Linked DNA regions of Homo sapiens: regions 1 and 2 are each linked to region 3. Evidence: promoter capture Hi-C in 16 types of primary human blood cells and fetal thymus (Javierre and others, 2016). All regions are on one chromosome and are shown on one strand. Each heading gives the region's core, a stretch centred on a gene start or on the middle of the fragment in contact. The rest is flanking DNA. Distances are from core to core; before and after follow the strand shown.

Region 1 (3,726 bases), core at 740-3,239, 520 kb before region 3:
TCTGCCAGTAGAGTCCAGCTGGTCTTTTGTTCTCCTCAGCAAAAGGCTCTTGGTTAAAATACTTAACCGTTCTCCTCCTTTCTTTGAGCCATTGTCAACCTGACTCCTCCACAGATTGAACTCATCAAATGGAGAGCAACGGAGAAACCTTTTTTGTTGAGGAAGAAGGGCACAGAGTAGGGAAGGAAAAGTCAGGGAGAATGGAATAAAGGTTCAAAGTAAGATATAAGATGACAAATCAGATTTTCTGTTACACCTGTCATCCAATCACTTTTAAAAGTGAATTTCATAGCAAACCTTTGCTGGACAGATCAAAAGGATGTAAGTCAATAACAAAACCACATTATAAAAATGTGAGTTTTCCTATTAACGATGCCTACGCTGTCACAACAAGACATATAACCAACAGCTAGAATTTGTTCCTAAAGCTACAGGAGCTAAGAAAGAAATTTCACATCCTCTTATGGCTGACTCGAATAAAAATAAGTATTTTATTTTTAATTTTTTTCTTTAGAGACTGAGGTCTTGCTCTGTCACCCAGGCTGGAGTGCAGTGGCATAATCATAGCTCACTGCAGCCTTGAACTCCTGGGCTCAAGCGATCCTCCTGCCTCAGCCTCTCGAGCAGCTGGGACCACAGGTGTACACCCCTGTGCCTGGCTAATTTTTTAATTTTTTGTAGAGGTGGGGTCTCATTTTACTCCCCTGGCTAATCTTGAACTCCTGGCTTCAAGCAATCCTCCCACATCAGCCTTCCAAAGTGTGGAGATTACAGGTATGACCCACTGCACTCAGCCAAATGGAAATATTTTAAAATCAACATTCTTTTTTGTTTGCTTCAAATAAATTGTAGTGCTAGCCCTAGACCATATGTTTTAAAGCAGAAGTAGCCGAAAACATTCACTGGACTTAAGAATAATTTTTGCATATATATATATATATAGCATATATTTGCATATATTTTGCATATATTTTGCATATATAAAGTCCTATATTTTTGCATATATATATAAGGGCTGAATGTAATCAAAGTCCTATATCAACCAATCAACAGCTATTTTCTCATAAATATTTATTCTTTTGTCCTTTAAAGGTTGACAGGCCTGCCATCTCCTAAACAAGATAATCTGGCACATACTAAGGCTTTATTATGAGACATGAAATAATGATGAAGGGATACAGACAGGGTTCATATTTACACAATCACGAGAAGTTACTCACTTCAGCAGCGAATACATATCCAATAAGTTGTTTTGAATGGGGGTTCCAGTGACAGCCCAACGGGCACAGGCTTGTAGCTTACACACAGCTATGGAAGTCTGCACTCGGGGATTCTTAACATTGTGAGCTTCATCCAATATGATTCGAGCCCAGGCTATTCGAAGCAAAGGTGTTGAGGTGCCCTGGAAGAATCACAAGTGAAATCCAGCCACAATATGGGAAAATGTACATGTCCTTAAGGACACAAGGGGAAATAGCAGGCAAGCATGGAGGACCCACATTTACCTTTAAATTTGCTTAGCTCAGGTACACTGAAATAAGAATTAAGAAACCCAAGAGTAAAACGTCTCAACTGGTTCAAATAAGTTATTTGAGAGTCTCAGTCTTTGAACATAAGATGTCTAAGAGTAAAATGTTTTCAAATTTGGGTTTCCTTTTTTTTTTTGAGATGGGAGTCTCGCTCCGTCGCCCAGGCTGGAGTGCAGTGGCGAGATCTCGGCTCACTGCAAGCTCCGCCTCCGGGCTTCACGCCATTCTCCTGCCTCAGCCTCCCGAGCAGCCGGGACCACAGGCGCCCGCCACCACACCCGGCTAATTTTTTGTATTTTTAGTAGAGTCGGGGTTTCATCGTGTTAGCCAGGATGGTCTCGATCTCCTGACCTCGTGATCCACCCGCCTCGGCCTTCCAAAGTGCTGGGATTACAGGCATGAGCCACCGCGCCCAGCCGACTTTTCTTTTATTCTTTAAATACACACTTAAGCAATGGCTGTAGACCATGACTACACCAGGCATTGAACCTGCAAATTCACTCACTCAATAAAACATTTACTAAATTTTACTAAATTTACTAACAATTTTCCAAAAGTCTACTTTTAGATGTGAGATGCTAAACCAGATATAAAAAACAGTTCCTACCTGCAAGAGCTCAAAATCTAGCAGGGGAGAAAAACAAGTGTAAAGATAATTACAATACGATATAGATATAGTAAGTCCCACTGGCTAGTTCAATACCTGAAGTGGGAATCTGGCTGCTCTTGACGAAACAGCACCTGACCCATAGTGGATACTCAACGTCTGCTGAAGAAACAAAGTGCTATAACTTATGTAAGCACAAGGTGCTGGCAGAGGCATTCAACCAAACCGGGGGAAGGTGGGAAGGGAGTGGTCCAGAAAAGATTCTTGAAGCAGGTTTAAAAAAATTAACCTGGGAGAAGGAGTGGAGGCAAAGCGTTTCATTCGGAGGGAGAACAGACACAACACTGTGACAGAGCATGGTGGGAACTACAGATCCCTTGGTATGACTGAGCAAGAGGTGCCCCAGGGAGGGGCAGGGTGTCATCAAGAGATGAGCGACATACAGGTAGGGCAAGATCATAAAGAGCCTAATATGGCCAGGCATGGTGGCTCATGCCTATAATCCCAGCACTTTGGGAGGCCGAGGCGGGTGGATCACTTGAGGTCAGGAATTCGAGACCAGCCTGGCCAACATGGCGAAACCCCATCTCTACTAAAAATACAAAAAATTAGCCGAGCATAGTGGCGGGCACCTGTTATCCCAGCTACTTGGGAAGCTGAGGCAGGAGAATCGCTTGAACCCGGGATGCAGAGGTTGCAGTGAGCCAAGATCGCACCATGCACTCCATCCTGGGCGACAGAGTGAGATTCTGCCTCAAATAAATAAATAAATGAAGCCTAATACATCATGAAAAGAAATTTAGGGTTTATCCCAAAAGCAATGGAAAACCAGTGAGCAATCTGAAAAGTTCATCATCTATAAGTCAGAGTTGGTTATAAGCTGGAGAAATGTTCTAGAGATCTCTCCAAATACAGAAACCTGTGAATATCCCGTTGGGCTAAAAGGATAACATATAGAAAAATGAGTTCTTGGGATAATACTGTATTTTCAGAGTATAATTACATGATAAAGCCTCTACATCACATAACTGAGGCTGCCCTGGACACCCTAGAAGACCATCACGTATTCACAATTGTCACTTAGCCTCTGGCCTTATTATTTGCAACCCTTTTTTTTTTTCTGGGAAGTAAAGGGAGGCAGGGAAAGATGGCTTAAAATCAAAATACTAGTAGTAAAATACTAGTCTGCACAATAAATATTAAAAATATCATGAGTATATACCCCAAATACTCTAAAATAAAAATAGCAACAAGTAAGGCTTTTATATATTCAGGTGATTATTACCCCCACAAATACAATGCAGTCATCTTTCATTCTAAAAGGCAGCTGAATCCTGTGGCATAGGTTGATCTTTATCACTGAGGTGGTTGTCTGGAATAAGGGTGATGGGATAGAGGAAAGAACAATTCCTTTCCACATGCGGATCATTTACAGCATTCCTGACCTCCAGGGAGGTCCTCTTGCTATCGTGGAGGCTGAGAAAGACTCCCATTAAACCATCTGTGGCTCCAACTCCACTTCCCTGGCTGCCCCCCAGCCTCACCTCCACATTGAGGTTTGCACCTGGGATCTCTGCCTCTTGCTTGTTT
Region 2 (3,604 bases), core at 204-2,703, 530 kb before region 3:
TCTAGATGCTATATCACAAACAGCAGCACAATATCCCACTTTGGAAACCTAATTCTTTCAAGGTATTAGAGTTGACAGCAAAATTTCAGACAACCAGAGGCCACACTGAACACTGGTGTCTCCATGCTTATCCTATTAGTGCAGGAGAATCTGGCTTCACCTTTGAGCCCTGCTAAAAGCCATTTCATTGAGCAACAGACAATCAGAGCAAGGAAACAACTCAGTGTTCATGAATTGCCATGCTAAATCACTCACAGGATTGATAGAGAAATAAGTCACCTCCCATAAACAGAAAATTTTTTTTTTCTGTTTTTCCTTCTTTTCATTAGCAATTGTTCCAAAAACACTTACTCTGCTAATTTCTGCTAGAAAGAATCACCGTTCTTTCTCTGTGGCCCAGGCTGGAGTGCAGTGGTATGATCTCAGCTCACTGTAACCTCCGCCTCCTGGATTCAAGTGATTCTCCTGCCTCAGCCTCCCGAGTAGCTGCAATTACAGGCACCCAACATCACGCCTGGCTAACTTTTGTATTTTTAGTAGAGAGGAGGTTTTGCCATGTTGGCCAGTCTGGTCTCGAACTCTTGGCCTCAAGTGATCTGCCTGCCTCAGCCTCCCAAATGCTGGGATTACAGGTGTGAACCACTGCGCTGGGCCTGCAATGGGAGTCACTGACAAGGTTTTTAAAGGGCCCAGGACTCTGTCTAGCTGCGGCATGCACAATACTCCTATTTGATCAACATGGCTAAGGCAAAGTCAAACTACATACCTTCCATGAAGTCAATTCTGTCGAGTAAGAAATGCCTTATAAATCCGGTGCTCAGGAATGTTGCACTTTGGAGACAGATGTTCACCATCTGGTTCTCAGCTGCACCCATGCTGCTGCTGGTTCTCATATTCCCAGACCTTGTCCCACAGCAATAACACTAGCACTTGTGTGGCCCTTCATGGTTTTCAAAGCATTTATTACCTCATATCATCCATGCCCAAGTCAGGTGCAATAGGCAGATGTAAAAAGCAAATCCAGCAGCAGTATTGTGACATGAAGGAAGGCTGGTTAACACAGGCAGGACTCATAGTGCAGCACCTCAATTAGACCACTGTGTTGTGGGATGCTGCCCATCGCTAGAAGGTGCAAAGACCCACCTTGTCATACCTAGACTTGACGAAACTGATTTACACTAAAATGAATATGAGGCTGAGACAGATACCAGAATGCCACTTCTGTTAATTCATGCCTGTCTCCCTTAGATGCTAAGCCTCATGAGGACAAAACAAAAAAAACCAAACAAACCCAGCCTAACCCCCAGGGAGGGAAGAGGGGAGACACATATGCAGCTCCACAATGTAATTCATGTAATCCATCCCAGCACTAGGATTTAAGAATGCATGTTTAGTATATTCCATCCCATTAAGGCAGTGGTTCCATTTTTTTCTGCATCCACCTCAAGTCAGTAGCATCTCACGGCTATAAGAACACCTACCCAAGACATAACTAGGTTGCTTTGCTTATGTACAATAACATGAGAAATTAGAAAAGCTGTTTTAAAATACCAGGAGGCATCTACCTTACAGTAGATTACTTGTCAATGGCCTCAATATCTGAAGATTTTAAGTTACAATCCCTGCATCCCTCTCCAAACTAAAAGCCAGAATGCTTGAACCTGAAAGAATTCCTCTCCCCTAAACAATGCTTGATTGGAGACTGACAATGTTCATCTAATACCTTCTAGTTGACATTACTGATCTATCTGGTCAACCATGTTGTAGTATATATATTTGCTATGAAATTCCCAGTGGAGCATGAGATACATGCTAATCCACACATTTTACAGATGAAAGGATTGAGATGTCCAAGGAATCTGCAACTTGCCTAATATCAATCAGCAAATGGCAGAGCCAGGTTTGTACATTCTTGCTGGCCTGGGAGCCACTGCTTCTCAGGTGACTCAATCTTTACCTTGGTATGTCAATCTTATAGCAAAACTTCAAAAAGGCAATGTTACTTCCTTTGCTTCTTGATTTTATCAGAAACCTTATTGCTGCTAAGTTCTGAAAACTGCCCACCTTACAAATGAGGAAATCAGAGTGTAGAGAAAGTAAGGATTTTTTTCTCTCTCTTTTTTTTTTTTTTTTTTTTTGAGACGGAGTCTCGCTCTGTCACCAGGCTGGAGTGCAATGGCGCGATCTCAGCTCACTGCAACCTCCACCTCCCAGGTTCAAGCGATTCTCCTGCCTTATCCTCCCCAGTAGCTGGGACTACAGGCGCACGCCACCACGCTCAGCTAATTTTTGTATTTTTAGTAGAGACGGGGTTTCACCATGTTGGCCAAGATGGTCTTGATCTCTTGACCTCGTGATCCGTCTGCCTCGGCCTCCCAAAGTGCTGGGATGACAGGCCTGAGCCACTGCACCCGGCCAATTTTTTCAACGTTACACACCCAGCTAAGATGAACCTAGAACTAGAGTCAAATCTCAAACGTTCTAGACTAGAATTCTTCCCACCAGGCCATTGTCTTTACCTTTGTAAGCCTTTAAATCTTGTCCTTATAGAAAACTTCTGCTTAAATAGGCTCCGAATGCCTCAGTCCACACTCTGACTGGGTTAACATAGGGTCTTGTTTCCCAACTCAAGGGACAGAAATGTTTCTGTGTTAGAAGAACTGTGATTCTTTCTAGCAGAAATTAGCAGAGTAAGTGTTTTTGGAACAATTGCTAATGAGAAGGAAATCTGAATAGTTTCCTGAAGTATAAAATCTCAAGTGTTTGTTTAGGGTACAAACTGCTATGTAAACAACACAGAAATCTCAGTAGCTTAAAAAAAAAGATTCCTTGATCATGTCATAGTCCAGTGTAGGTGAGCTGGGGCGAGGAGGGAAGTGTACATGGGGAGCCATCCTGGGACTGAGGCTTCACTAGTCTAATAGAAGGGCTGATGGCCAAAAACTAGGCTAAGAACTGCTGAGCTAGTGGCTTCACCTTCCCTAGGGCCTTGTAATCTTCCATCAGTTCCTTTGCATCCCATAGGCTGAGGAGGGAAGAAACAGCATGAATGATCTTTTGGAAAGTGGTAGAGGGCCACCTAGAAGTGACTTACATCAATCGCTTCTCTCCACAGTCCATTGATATGGACCCCGTCAAACTGCAGCAAAAACTGGGAAATACAGTCTCTCTGGGTGCCCGGGAGGAAAAGGAAGTGGGTTTGGTGAACACATAGCATTATTTCTGCTACACTGTCAAACACATTATTTATTAGATTGTATCAATACTACTGTTAGTATTATTAGTATTGGATTGTACCAATAGTATTATTAGTATTGGATTGTACCAATAGTATTATTAGTATTGGATTGGATTAGTATTGGACTGGATTAGTATTTATTAGATTGTACCAAATACTAAATGAAACAATGATACTAAATGCTACAAATACTGCAAATTTGTAAAAATACAAATACTATTAAAAATGACACAAATATTATACAAATACTACAAATAGAAATGTTATAATAGAAATACTAAACGATACAATGAACCAAATGATACAAATATTAAACTGTATGGTGATAACCAATATTAAATGACTGAGTGATATACAACACTAAAT
Region 3 (3,543 bases), core at 708-3,207:
TGATTCATAAAATTAACCAGGCATTTGAGGGCTTCTAAAAGTGCTTGATGGACAGCATTTCTCTCAATGAAAGAGCAGGCACTGCTCCTTGGTCAAAGGAGAGTCCAACCAAGGAAGCCTAATGAGTTATTCCTCACCCAATACCTGGAGACCATGACCTGGGGGTGAGGGGCTTCCCCAGCCCCATGTGACTGGGCTGTTCTTTCCTCAGCCCTGCTCTTAAGGGGCTTAACAGCTCTTGCTGGCAGTCCAAATGGCTGCATAGCTGTCAGTCCAAAAGTCCCATTATCATATCCCGTTCCTGTATGAAGGGATAAGAGTAGAGGCATTGGACATGGCCTCAGCTGGACTCCAAGTTCTGCCCTTTACTGTGTGCCCTGAGTAATTTACCTTCCCCAGGCATCAGTTTCCTCATTTGCAAAAACAACAGCAGCAGTAAGACTAAGTTAATCCAAGCAATGCACTTCACACAGGGCCTGCTCAATAGATGTTTGCTGTCATATCACTTCCCAGCTCAAAAACTTTCTGTGGCTCCCCAGTGTCTGAAGGTCTAACCCCATCCTGCCTTTCTAAGTTGGCCTGAGTTCCTACCAGCCCAGGGCAGAGAACACTTGATTTCCTCATATTTTATGTTACACACTGCCCCTGCCTTGTGTTCCCAGTATCTACAGATGGTAGGGAATATCTCGAGATAGCAGGTTTGTGGTAGAGGGCATTGGTCCCAGAAGTTTCACTGATAGAGATACCTTTTAAGATTTTATGGCTAACTTAAGAAATAATTCATGTCTCTTTGCAATATGGTTCAAGTGTCTTGAGTGACTTCGAGTCCCCACCTGGGGATAATGGAGGTGAAGCAGCAAGAAAGCACATTCCCACTCAGTTTCACAACCTGCACCATGTATGTGTTGGTGGTTATTTGGGCAGCAGGGAGTCCTGTTCATGGAAATGGATTCCTGCTCACATAATAACTAAGAGTTCTGTGAACTCCCTCAGCTGGGCAGGGGCAACTCTGGTGCTTCTGTCTGCAAGAAAGGGGACAGACAGGGAGGCTGATGTGAGGAGCTGGTTCTGGGAATAGGGTCATTTGTTCTGGGATATAGGGATGTGAGGGGAGGGCCAGCTCAATCCAGACTGATGAAGAGCGGGGAGAGTGATGAGTGCCTGCCTCAGCTTGGGCTGGATGGATGTGGGGAGGCTGGGCAGTGAGGGAGATGTGGATCTGACATCTCAGCCTGAGGGAAAGTCCCGGTTGAGATGGGGGAAGACAGAAAAAGAGGAATCTGAGAAGGGAGAAACCAAAGGCTGGAAATCCCAGCTCCGGGGATAAGGGAGTATGGGGACGGGGGAGGCCTGCCTCAGGTAACCCTACGCCTAACAGTTGTCTAAAATGCTCCCTTTCCTTGTCATGTTTGAGGAAAAGTGGTTCAAAGAGGCCGTCTGATGCGGGATCACACAGCGCTGAAGGGATGAGGGGCCCCGGGTGCTCCCGCCCGTCCTGCTGCCTCCTCCGGTGGCTCTCTGGGAGCCACAGCCCCGTCTAGCCACGGAGGGGCCTACAGCACGCCCCAAACGCTAAGGGGAAGCGCGGGAGGTGCGGTAGGAAGGCAGAGAAACCTGGTTTTTAAAACCAAGCCATTTTCAAGGAAAGAATTTCTTACTTTAAAACCTTGGTTTTTAAAACCAAGCCATTTTCAAGGAAAGAATTTCTTACTTAAAAATAGCGTATGGAATGGCGGCGGAATGACGGGAGGGACCGAGCTGGGGGACTGGACGGCGCCCCGGGGACACAGGAAGGAGGCGCGCAGAGCCGAGGCCAGAGGCGCGCCCGGGGAGTGGAAGCGCGAAGACAAACGCGGCGCCGCGGAGGGTGGGGGAGGAAGGGCCGGGGCGGGCCGCCGGCTGCCAGCCCAGGGCGGGGCGGAGCCCTACTTCTGGCCGACCGCGTAGGCGGTGCTTGAACTTAGGGCTGCTTGTGGCTGGGCACTCGCGCAGAGGCCGGCCCGACGAGCCATGGTTGCTGGGAGCGACGCGGGGCGGGCCCTGGGGGTCCTCAGCGTGGTCTGCCTGCTGCACTGCTTTGGTGAGTGAAGCCTGCCCCAGGGGCCCCGCGCCGGCCGGCGGGTACTGGGCAGCACCCAGGCTGGGTGGACGCGCCGGGCTCGAGGCGGTTGCCGATCAGAGACGGGTGGGGACGGGTCGCTGTGGGCCGGGAACAACTCAGCCGTGGGAGCCTTTTCAGGAAGAGAAAGTTGTTATTTCATCGCCAGTGTCCCTCATGGAGTCAGCAAGGAACTGTGTGGCCTTAGGGAAGGACGGGCTCCGGCCCGCTAGCCTCTCCTGCGGGGCCTGCGCCCCCCCGCCGGCCCCCTCCCGAGCTCCAGTGACCAAGTTCCTTCCTGGGCTTCCCCAGTAACGTCGCTGAGCGCTTCAGCGGACTGCAAAATTTTTCCCAGCCGTGAACGCGCCCGGGACGGGGAGCGGGCGCGGATGCCACCTGCTCGAGGGCGACGCCTGCTGCCCTCCCCGCGCGGTGCCGTCCCCGCCCGCGCGGCGTCCGCCGTATCAGCAGAGAGGACTTTTCAGAATCGCCCCACAGCGAGGAGCGGGTAGGCAACTAGGAAGCCCAGTCGGCAGCGGCCTCACGTTGGGATTCCTAAGTGGTGCGACTCCTGCTCCTTTTTCCTCCCCTCAAATCCTAAAAACTAGTATCAGAACTGGTTCCATCCTCTCCGTGTGTTGTCAGCCAAGTCGTCACAACAACCTCAGGAAATAGGTCCCCTTCTTCCCATTTTGCCTCCCCATCCTCCTTCACCCTCCACACATTGGCCCCAGTCAGGCCATAGCAAAACCCCGGGAGTACAGCAGTAACCTCCCAGCGAGTTCAACTGTACTTGAGGGGTTCTCATGGCTGGCTCCTGCACCCCACTGCCAGCCCTCCAGCCCGTCCGTCCGTTTGCTCAGCGTCCGCTGCCTGCCCGGGAGGTGCGCGTGTGCATCTATGGAAGACAGCCAAGGGGGAGGGGTTGAGATAGACTCAAAAGTACCCGCACGATCAGATAAGTCAGTGTTGTAAGAGGCCTGGGCTGGGCGTGGTGGCTTACACCTGTCATCCTAGCACTTTGGGAGGCTGAGGCAGGTGGATCACTTGAGGCCAGGAATCGGAGACCAGCAGGGCCAACACGGTGAAAGATCGGCTCTACAAAAAATACAAAAATTAGCTGAGCGTGGTGGCGCATACCTATAGTCCCAGCTACTCGGAAGGCTGAGGTGGGAGAATCACCTGAGTCCCGGAGGCAGAGGATGCAGTGAGCTGTGATTGTGCCACTGAACTCCAGCCTGGGTGACAGAATATGACCTGTCTCAAAAAAAAAAAAAAAAAAAAAAGGTGAGCTGTGAGGGTACAGAGGGAAGAAGAAGGCAGTCTCTTTTGTGAAATCAAGTGTCTTTTGTGAAGCAGTCTTCATGGGAGGGAGGATATTTGAGCCCAGCCTTCAAGGACTGGTGATGTGTGGACATGTGATAATGTGGGAAAAGATTGCTGAG

What was found. The method cuts DNA at HindIII sites, captures the fragments that hold promoters and counts their contacts. A CHiCAGO score of 5 or more calls a contact.
Region 1: a fragment that was not itself captured here is called in contact with the fragment with the promoter of CD58 in region 3 in 1 of 17 cell types (activated CD4 T cells); the score reaches 5.8 in activated CD4 T cells.
Region 2: a fragment that was not itself captured here is called in contact with the fragment with the promoter of CD58 in region 3 in 1 of 17 cell types (non-activated CD4 T cells); the score reaches 5.6 in non-activated CD4 T cells.

What each region holds. Positions count from the first base shown.
Region 1 is chr1:117,086,477-117,090,202 of GRCh38, reverse strand. It overlaps TTF2 (transcription termination factor 2), which reads right to left. Exons shown (of 23, transcript NM_003594.4): 12 at 3,681-3,726; 13 at 1,221-1,402; 14 at 1-148. Among named protein-coding and RNA genes, the nearest start is that of MIR942, 6.3 kb to the left of the region's middle. The HindIII fragment of the contact is 4,715 bases long and covers 1-3,726 here.
Region 2 is chr1:117,102,486-117,106,089 of GRCh38, reverse strand. TTF2 (transcription termination factor 2) reads right to left here. Exons shown (of 23, transcript NM_003594.4): 23 at 1-3,604. Among named protein-coding and RNA genes, the nearest start is that of MIR942, 9.6 kb to the right of the region's middle. The HindIII fragment of the contact is 5,602 bases long and covers 1-3,604 here.
Region 3 is chr1:116,569,440-116,572,982 of GRCh38, reverse strand. It overlaps CD58 (CD58 molecule), which reads left to right and starts at 1,957. Exons shown (of 6, transcript NM_001779.3): 1 at 1,957-2,080. The coding sequence starts at 2,011. It overlaps LOC124904385 (a long non-coding RNA gene), which reads right to left and starts at 2,008. Exons shown (of 2, transcript XR_007066497.1): 1 at 1,930-2,008. RefSeq lists silencers at 1,756-2,215, 2,286-2,355 and an enhancer at 2,826-2,885. The HindIII fragment of the contact is 6,609 bases long and covers 1-3,543 here.